3 separate regions of the Homo sapiens genome follow, and all the other regions are linked to region 2. Evidence: promoter capture Hi-C in 16 types of primary human blood cells and fetal thymus (Javierre and others, 2016). All regions are on one chromosome and are shown on one strand. Each heading gives the region's core, a stretch centred on a gene start or on the middle of the fragment in contact. The rest is flanking DNA. Distances are from core to core; before and after follow the strand shown. Region 1 has its middle 23 kb from the start of MIR646HG. Region 2 holds the start of SYCP2 (synaptonemal complex protein 2). Region 3 holds the start of MIR646HG (MIR646 host gene).

The links. Contacts are between HindIII fragments. The CHiCAGO score rates a contact against its expected background, and 5 or more counts as called.
Region 1: a fragment that was not itself captured here is called in contact with the fragment with the promoter of SYCP2 in region 2 in 1 of 17 cell types (neutrophils); the score reaches 5.1 in neutrophils.
Region 3: a contact is called between a fragment that was not itself captured here and the fragment with the promoter of SYCP2 in region 2, in 3 of 17 cell types (monocytes, megakaryocytes and neutrophils). The highest score is 7.0, in monocytes.

The regions. Positions count from the first base shown.
Region 1 is chr20:60,114,307-60,117,131 of GRCh38, forward strand. No RefSeq gene overlaps it. Among named protein-coding and RNA genes, the nearest start is that of MIR646HG, 23 kb to the right of the region's middle. The HindIII fragment of the contact is 2,269 bases long and covers 336-2,604 here.
Region 2 is chr20:59,932,096-59,935,207 of GRCh38, forward strand. It overlaps SYCP2 (synaptonemal complex protein 2), which reads right to left and starts at 1,542. Exons shown (of 45, transcript NM_014258.4): 1 at 1,474-1,542; 2 at 1-59. It also overlaps a transcript of FAM217B not described here. RefSeq lists a silencer at 1,833-2,232. The HindIII fragment of the contact is 1,592 bases long and covers 1,375-2,966 here.
Region 3 is chr20:60,135,944-60,138,773 of GRCh38, forward strand. It overlaps MIR646HG (MIR646 host gene), which reads left to right and starts at 2,549. Exons shown (of 5, transcript NR_046099.1): 1 at 2,549-2,701. The HindIII fragment of the contact is 1,061 bases long and covers 1,051-2,111 here.

The DNA of each region.
Region 1 (2,825 bases), core at 220-2,719, 180 kb after region 2:
AAGGCCATGAGAAGAAGGACTGGAGAGGAATAGCTGCCAGTCATTGATATAAAAATGGAGTCGCTACATCAACCATAGTAAAATGGGGTGCAGCACCCCCACCACATGCCTGACTTATCACAAGACATCCCTGCTTGTATGCCTATGACAGGAACTATGCAAGGAACTCCTCAAAAACACAGGATTCCAGGTAAGCCACTTATGGATGCACATAACTTGTCCAACACTGGCTGCTTCCACCAATGAGCTAACACCAACTCCCGGAATAAGCCCCTGTGATCAATGGTCTTCATTTCAAAACAACTTAAGGTGGACTTCTCCCTTTTGTCTTTAAAAGCTTCTCCTAGTCCCAACCTCTTTGGATGTGCTTATGGCTCACCAGAGAATGCATATCCTGGATTGCAATCCTCTGCTATTCCCGAATCAACTCTTTGGAAAGTCTCTCTCTGTGTTGTTATTTTACAAGGCCAAGTAATACCAGGGATTTCCAGCAACCACCAGAAGCTGGAAGAGGCAAGGAAGGACCCTCCCTAGAGTCTCCAGACAGAAGATGCCTCATAGACACCTCGATTTCAGATTTCTGGCCTTCGGAAGTGAGAGAGAATAAATTCCAGTTGATTTAAGCCACCTGGTTTGTGTGCTTTGTTGGCAGCCCATGAAAGTCATATCATGACTTTTGCAAACTGACCAATTAATAATTAAGAAAAATGGCCTGAGATGGTAAACTGATGAGCATTTTGAAATTCACAAAAATTTGTTCTCACGTTTGTTATCCTGGGTGAATCTTCTGAAGCTGTATGTTAAACACACAAGATTCCTATGTAAACCATGATGTCTTCACAATATTGAGCATATTTTATCTTTTAAAAAAGTAAATTACCCATTCTTGCACAAAAAAGTAGATTTTTGTTGATCTATATTTTTATTTAGAATAAATTTGATGAAATCAGGTGGTGGGACAGCTGGCCCAGCTTGGAATAATGATCCCTCTGGATATATCCTTGTCTTGTTCTCATTTACAACTTTTGAGGCATAAAAGCATATTTTCAAAAAACCAACGCTTCTATATGAAAGCAGATTTATCATTCAGATCCATCATTAATTTCCCAATGACGTTCTGCCTGCCCATAAAAAAGACTTAGAGCTCGTTATGAAAATTTTATTCCAGAGAAAATGGTCTTGGGACATGGTTTGCACTGACCTCTTTTAACCTCTTGTTCCCTGTGTTATTATTATTAAGTAATAATGTTGCTTCCTGCCATTGCCTGCCAACATAACTCTTCCCTCTTTGTACTTCAGGAATCTGGGGACGGTTTTGGTTGCAGAGGGCAGATCAGCACTTTGCCATCGCCCTGTGCTCCTGGCCAGTCCCCATGCCGCTGCTGGGATGACAGTCTTACATCATCTTTTATGAGTACATCAACTTATTTGCAATTACGTTTAGATTGTCTAATAAAACCGGGTGACATTTTAGCTTACAGTTTATGTCCCAGTAAAAGGCTCCAAATGTTATTGCCATAAGAATCTATGTGGCAACCCAACATAAACCTTTTATTTCTAGCTGGACAGCTGACTCTGCGTTTAGCAACAGGAAAGCAGGGAATTGGAGGAGCGGGTTTCGGGGGGCGGTCGTGACAGCAGCCACCTCCTGCGGGTTTTGTTTTCTCTGTCAGGTTCCCCTTCTAGCACTCAAAAGCATCCAGCACTTTCTGAAAAGGAGGCCTGGGAAATGGTTGGACATGTCTCTGTTGTGGGCTCTGGGTGTGAGCCACAGAAGTGAGAGCTGAAGAAACCTCAGAGACCATCAGGCTTCCTCGTGGGATAGTTTTGGGTCCTTAGGAAATTAGGCCTTGGCACTCAGCTTAGATGACTTCCATTACAGTCCTATAGGTGTGAAATAAACATCTGGCTCAGAGGTTCTCCACTGAGGGCCACCATGGGTCAGTGTCTGGAGACATTTTTGGTTGTCACACCTGGGGGCAGTGCTGAGACTACTGTGTGCGCATTCATCTAGCGGGTGCAGGTGGGATGCTGCTGACACGTAACATGCACAGGGCAGCTCCGCCACAGAGAAAGATCCAACCCCGAATCTCGGCATGACGGAGGCTGAGAAATCCTGATCTAAGTGATAGCTTACTAAGCAAGGCCTTGGCGTTCAGAAGCGGTTGCCTGATTTCCTTCTTTCCTTTTTGAGTCATGGTTTTGTTGAGTTCTTGAAAGTGATAGACCTGCTGTAAATAAAATCACTGGATAAAGTTGGCGAGGGGTGGCCTGCCAGCCTCCAACCCCTGCCTGATGTGGGGTGCGTGGCCGGCCAGCCTCCAACCCCTGCCTGATGTGGGGTGCGTGGCCAGCCAGCCTCCAACCCCTGCCTGATGTGGGGGGCGTGGCCGGGCAGTCTCCAACCCCTGACTAATGGGGGGGGCGTGGCCGGCCAGCCTCCAACCCCTGCCTGACGGGGGTAAAATAGTGAAAAGCAAAAGCACCTGGTGTTTTTAGGAGACAGGAGACACAACAACTGAATATGTGGGCAGATTTGGGGGAAGAAAGAAATGAGCCCCAATGACCTGCTTCAGTTTTCTATTGAAAGAAATGCAACTTGGAAGCTTCATTTTTTTTTTTTAAGCACATCCTTTAAAAACATTGCCCAGTGCGTTTGGAAGTAGCCTTCCAGAAACCCTTGGGATTTATGACCCCAAAGTATGCTCACAGGTGCTCCCAATGAACCTTTAGGTGTAACGTGGATGAAGTGTGGAATGTGCCGTGACTCCTGCCTCTTAAAAGCTTACAGATTCCAGAAATGAAACCAGTTCATGCATAAAATA
Region 2 (3,112 bases), core at 292-2,791:
TGAACTGGGGGACTGGTTAGCGAGCAACACAGAGAACTAGTAAGATGATGATTGTGTATCTGCAGGCAGATAAAAGCGTTACGGATAAAAACAACAACAAAGAAAACAATTTGGCAGATGGGGGAGGCAAAGATTTTCCCCCAAAGGAAAAACTGCTGAATGAATGCAAGCAGCAGTAGATAATTCAAAGTCCCCTCTGCCCTGGTAACTAACATAGCTAAGGTGTCCAAAAAGACATTAAAGGTGAATGAAGGGGAGGGAAGGCGTCCTCCTCCTCCCATCATTACTAAAAAATGTAGGCCGGGCGAGGTGGCTCACACCTGTAATCCCAGCACTTTGGGAAGCCGAGGCAGGTGGATCACCTGAGGTCAGGAGTTCGAGACCAGCCGGGCCAACATGGAGAAAACCCGTCTCTACTAAAAATACAAAATTAGCTGGGCGTGGTGGCGCGCCAAGTAGTCCCAGTTACTCCGGAGGCTGAAGCAGGAGAATCGCTGGAACCCGGAAGATGGAGGTTGCAGTGACGCGAGATCGCACCACTAAACTCCAGCCTGGGTGACAGAGCGAGACTCCGTCTCGGGAAAAAAAACAACAAAAAAAAACCACGCTGCCGTATTCGCAGATGCTCGGCCAGCCTGGAGCCCGGTCCAGAAAAGGCCGCACGTGGAGCCACGTGTCGCGCATTGAGCCGCCGCGGGACGCATCAGGCCCAGCTGCGCGGAGGGGCTGGCGGCCTCAACCGCAAGGAGAGGCCGCAGGTGGGGACGGCGGGAGGGAGAGAAGGGACTGAAGGCGCCGAGCAGGAGGAAGGTTTTGCGCGCACTCCCTTCTTCCCTAAGTGGAACCGGCAGTGGCAACAACGAGGCCGAAGGCGAAGTCCCTGCTCCCACCGCCGGCACGGTGACCCTTTTCCCAGGGTCACCCCCGAACCAACAAAGCACACACACACCCGAGATGCGCCCCAGGCCGCAGCGCCAACCCCCCTTCAGATGTCCCGGAGACAGGCGAGCAGCGGTCCCCAGGGCTCCCGTCGCCACCGCTTCTCCCGCACCCCTCAGCCTCCTCGGGCCGGCGACGCGCGCAGCCCCAGGCCTGCTCCCCGCTCGCCAAGCGCACCGCCCCGCGCCTCAGCCACCTTGACCGAGTCGCCCACGCGCGGGGGCGGCTCCGAGCGCCCATTTCCCATCCCCGAGGCCGAGGCTGGCCAGGCAGGTGCTGATGGGGAGCCTCGCGCCTGCGCGAGCCACCCTCGCCGCGAACTCTGCACAGCCCACGCCCTGGCCCAGCCTCGGCGCCTCCCCTCCGCCCACTGCCGCAGAACCGCACCCCCTCCCCCTCGGCAGCTTCCACAACGGCTCCGCCTCAACCGTCGGAAGCTTCTCGCCTGCCGGCTTGAAAGGCCAAGCCGAAGCCCCACCCTCCCTCCGCGCCCCGCCGTGGGGGAAGCCCACCCAGGCACTCTGCTCAACCTGCCTGCGGCAGGAGGCGTCCGCGTAGTGTCGGTGGAGCCGCCCCCTATGCCGCCGAGCGTCGCAACTCTGCGCCTCAGGGACCGCCGCAGCGCCTCCGGCGAACGGCGGAAGGCGGGAAGCGCCCGTCCAATCCGCGCCAGGTGCGGTCGATAGTGCGTCCAATCGGCGTCGCCGCCAGCCAGGTCCCGCCCCCCCCATCCCCCCCACCCCCGCCAACGCTCGCCGGGGTCGCCCGAGGCCTGAGCCAAGGGGGACGCTGTGGGCGCGGCTCAGGCCAGGCCCTCAGGTTAGTGGGTCCCCGCTGTCCCCGCGCTTCGGCCCGTCCTCTCGCGCTATGCTCTCCTGATGAACGCCCCGCGAGCGGAGTCACCCCCGCCAGCGAGGAGACTCGCTGCCTTGACTGGGGCCCTGGTCCCGGGACAGGCGAGCAGGAAGGGATGGAAGGGACGGAAGCGCGGGCGGGACCAGGAGAAGCCCATCCCCGCGCTATGCGTCCCCAGAGCCACTGGGACCCGCGGCTCCAGCCAGCCCTGCAGGGGCGAGCTGGACCGGGGGACCAGGGCGCCGGGCCGACGACTCCTGGGTGAGGCCTGGCTCCTGCCGGCAGGGGGCGCAGGGCCGCCTGGGCTCCTGGGTGCGGGTGCCGGAGGGCGGGAGAGACCGCAGGTCCGGAGACGGGGTGCTGAGCTGGGTACCCAACTGTGTATTCCTAGGCTCTTTCAGACGCTTCCATTTAAGAGATCCGTTTAACTTATGCAGCCAGCGGGTGCTTGTGTAAAAAATCGCAGGCCCTTCTGAGACAGGCACAGCCGCGAAAGGGTCTCCTTGCCCCTTGGCTCGCAGAGGGCGTCGGTGTTCGGCGCTCAGTCTTCTGCGTGTTTTCCCCGTGCTCGCGTTCTGAGATGGAAACTGTTCCACGTGCACTGAGATGCAGCTCGGTCTTTCTAACAGCTTCGTAATTATTTAATCATGTGGATTAACTTCATCCGAGGAATTCAATCCTCCACTGATGAGCCTACACTTCTATTACAAATAATACTGCAGCAAACCACCTTTGGATTAATATTTGTGTCGGATCAATTTTTAAAAGTTGAATTGTATGTGTAGTTAAACTTTTATAGGTATCTTCAAATCAAAATTTAAAATTATATTTTAATAACATTTTAATTTCTTATCTAAAAGGCACTAATTGTTTAAAAATATGGGATTAAGATTTAAATGTGCGGTGGAAAGCACCTGAAAAAAATAAACACAAGGTAATAGAATCAAAGCTCAGTTGTGGACCAGAGCAGATCAAATCACAGTAAATAAGCTCTCAGAGGTGTTTTAAATATTCTGCTTAGCTAGAATTACCAACTTCTTGACAACTTTGTAACTACCCCCATTGAACTTAATTTTGATATCTTAGTTTTTTAATTCAGAGCTGACAGATTACATATGCAATCTAAGGTACACAGGTGTACGCAGGGATTTGAGGGGATTTTATATGTTCAAAGCTTTCAATGCTTTTGAATTATACGTTTAAGTACTAATAATGTATAACACAAAATGTAAGAAGATCGAAGAGTGCTTCAAAATTGTGACCTGGCAATTTTGCATAATTATTTTCATACCTAGTTTTCCGCCAATAGATCTAAGAT
Region 3 (2,830 bases), core at 331-2,830, 200 kb after region 2:
GTTCTCACTTATTTGTGGGATCCAAAAATCCAAACAATTGAACTCATGGAGATAGAGGGTAGAAGGATGGATACTAGAGGCTGGGAAGTGTTGCGGGGGTGAGGAGGACGGACATGGGGATGAATAAGACCTAGTGTTTGATAGTACAATAGGGTGAGTAGAGTCAACGATAATTTAATTGTACATTTAAAAATAGCTAAGAATATAATTGGATTGTTTGTAACACAAAGGACAAATGCTTGAGGAGATGGATACTCCATTTTCCATAGTGTGATTATGGTGCATTGCATGCCTGTATCAAAACATCTCATGTTCCCCATAAATATATACACCTACTGTGTACCCATAAAAATGTAAAAAAATGATTAAAAGTCTAGATATAATTTAAAAGAGGAAACTGTCTTTGTGTGGAGGCCAGCTGAAGACAGATACTGCATCAGGCACTTGGCAGCCTGGTTTCCAGTAGCTTCTCAACCCAGTGGAGTAGACTCTATGGCCCCATTTTGCAGATGAAGAATGGAGGTGCAGAGAAATCACAGCTCTAGCTTTGTCAGGAGGACCATAGAGGTCCAGGGGCTGGAGGTCTGAATATTTAATAGAGGGATTTGAATAACCATGGAAGTTAGCCTGGAGAGAGATTTAGGAGGCAGATAAGCCTAGTGTTCACTGTGGGGGCAGATGCCTTCCCCATCTGTGCAGACGATTGGCCCAAGTGGCCATGATGACATGGCTCCTACCTACTTCCTAATGGACCTCAGAGAATTAAACAGCGAGGACAACAGCGAGTGTTGTCTCTCAGACCCTTGGCTTTTTCAGGACTGCCTGACCTTTCTTTGTCCTTATTTGGCTTCAAGTCAAGTCAGCTCAACCCTGATTGAGCACCGGCAATGAGTCATGTCTGTGAAGGCGACACAGCCCCTGTCCTTGAGGAGCTTCGAGTCCAGTGACTGTCACTTCAGTGGAAGTTGGGCTGGACACAGTCACATGTGTATGCCAGACATGAGGCTTTGTTCTCATTACAATAATTGCCCTGCATTATTCTAGCAATTAAGCTTCTCCACGTGTGTGGATGCATGTTCCCAATTTTTTCTGGCCTCTACCGAACACAATGTTAATATTTGAGAGCAGTCCTAAAAAATTAAATAATTATACAAACTGAATTAGGATAGCATAATATTACCAATCAGAGTAATGTGGCTTTGTAATCCAGTGTGATGTCATATGAATCTACAAATTAGGAAGCATGTCAGAGGAGGAAACCACATCCTTTATTGCTTTGCCTTAAATAGCTTAAAACTAATCTTTTCCATGAGCCAACAGCTATCTCTCATGTTTAATAATGCTCCTCCCTGCCCAGATGAAGCTAACTAAATGATGTTGCCCCCTGCACCTGCAAATGCCTGGTGCCAGGGCAGGGACACAGGGAATGGCAGAAGGGGAGACCAGATGTTGGCTGAGGCATTGATTTATGGGCATGACCTTCCATGTGCCCCGAGGATGGCTGAGACCAGGGTTTGATGAATGCAGTGCTCTGTGTGAGAAGTTCTAAGGTGACAAGCAAAGATTCTATCCTCTGGAGGGGCAAGCCCTATTATTAGGTTGGTGCAAAAGTAATCGCAGTTTATGCAGTTGTAATGGCAAAAACAGAAATTACTTTTGCACCAACCTAATACCAGACAGAGGAGGTGCAAGTGCATGCCACCAGGGCAGGTGCAGGTGATGGGGGCAGAGAAAACTCAGATGTCTCCAATCTGTGCAGAGTAGGGAAACAGAAAAAGCTAAGTGAGGAAAGTGAGATTGCTATCACACAGATGCATGTCTTAGGTTTTCTGATTCCATTCCTCATGAATTTCATTAAGTAATCAAAGTGCTAAGCATGAAATGTGGGTATGCTGTCACCAGGTGGCAGCAGCATCCACTCTCCAAAATGCATTTTGTTCAAACCTAGTATGTGCTGGGTATTCTGAGCACATAGCAGAGACTAAGGCAAAGAGTCCCTGGCACTGTGGAGCTTAGAGGCTAATGAGGTGGCAGGTGCTTACACTTTAGAAACCGTTGTGAGGAATAGCTAGTGGTAGTTAAATGATACAGTGATAGTTAACAGAGAGGAAAGCTTTTCTCTCACTCCAAGCTATATTTTTATTATCACTATTAATATAAATAGAAAATAAATATTAAAATAGTTATTAAATAAGCAAAAGATAATGTTGCATTTAGTTATACGATTAAGTAGAGGTTTTCAAATATTTTTTAGCTTTGTGCAACCGAAATTATATGAGGAAGCAAAAACCACAAATACAGAAAATAAGAACTTTTCTGTTTGAACAGAAACGAGGACACTGGGGAGGCCCTTCCAATGCAGGCCAGACTTTTAGGGGCTCGACAGAACACAGCTGGAGAAACATCCACACCACACGCGGTTTCACCTGCCACACGGCAGCCCGGGTGCCCGGATCACTGTGTGTGGAGACTCAGGCTCACCGGCAAACCTCTTCCGGTTCCGGTCAGGGTGCTGCCTCCCTATCCACTGGGAGTCCTTTTGCGTTTCAGATGCTCCCAGGCTCTCCCGCAGTTTAAAGACTTAACTCAGCGGCTTTCAGGGCCTGTGGTTGAGGGACTCCGAAAGAACTGTTGCTGGTGGACCGGTTCAGGGTCTTGACTTCGCCACACAAAAGAACTTGAGAGCACGTCCAAAGTAAAGGTAAGCAAGGGAGTTGATCGCACAGCGAAAGCGCACTCTGCCAGCGGATCGGAGCGGCCGCTCAAAGGCGAGGCAGTGCTGGCCGACACTGGGGAAACCCCCTTTATGGGGGTCTTACATGATTATTCA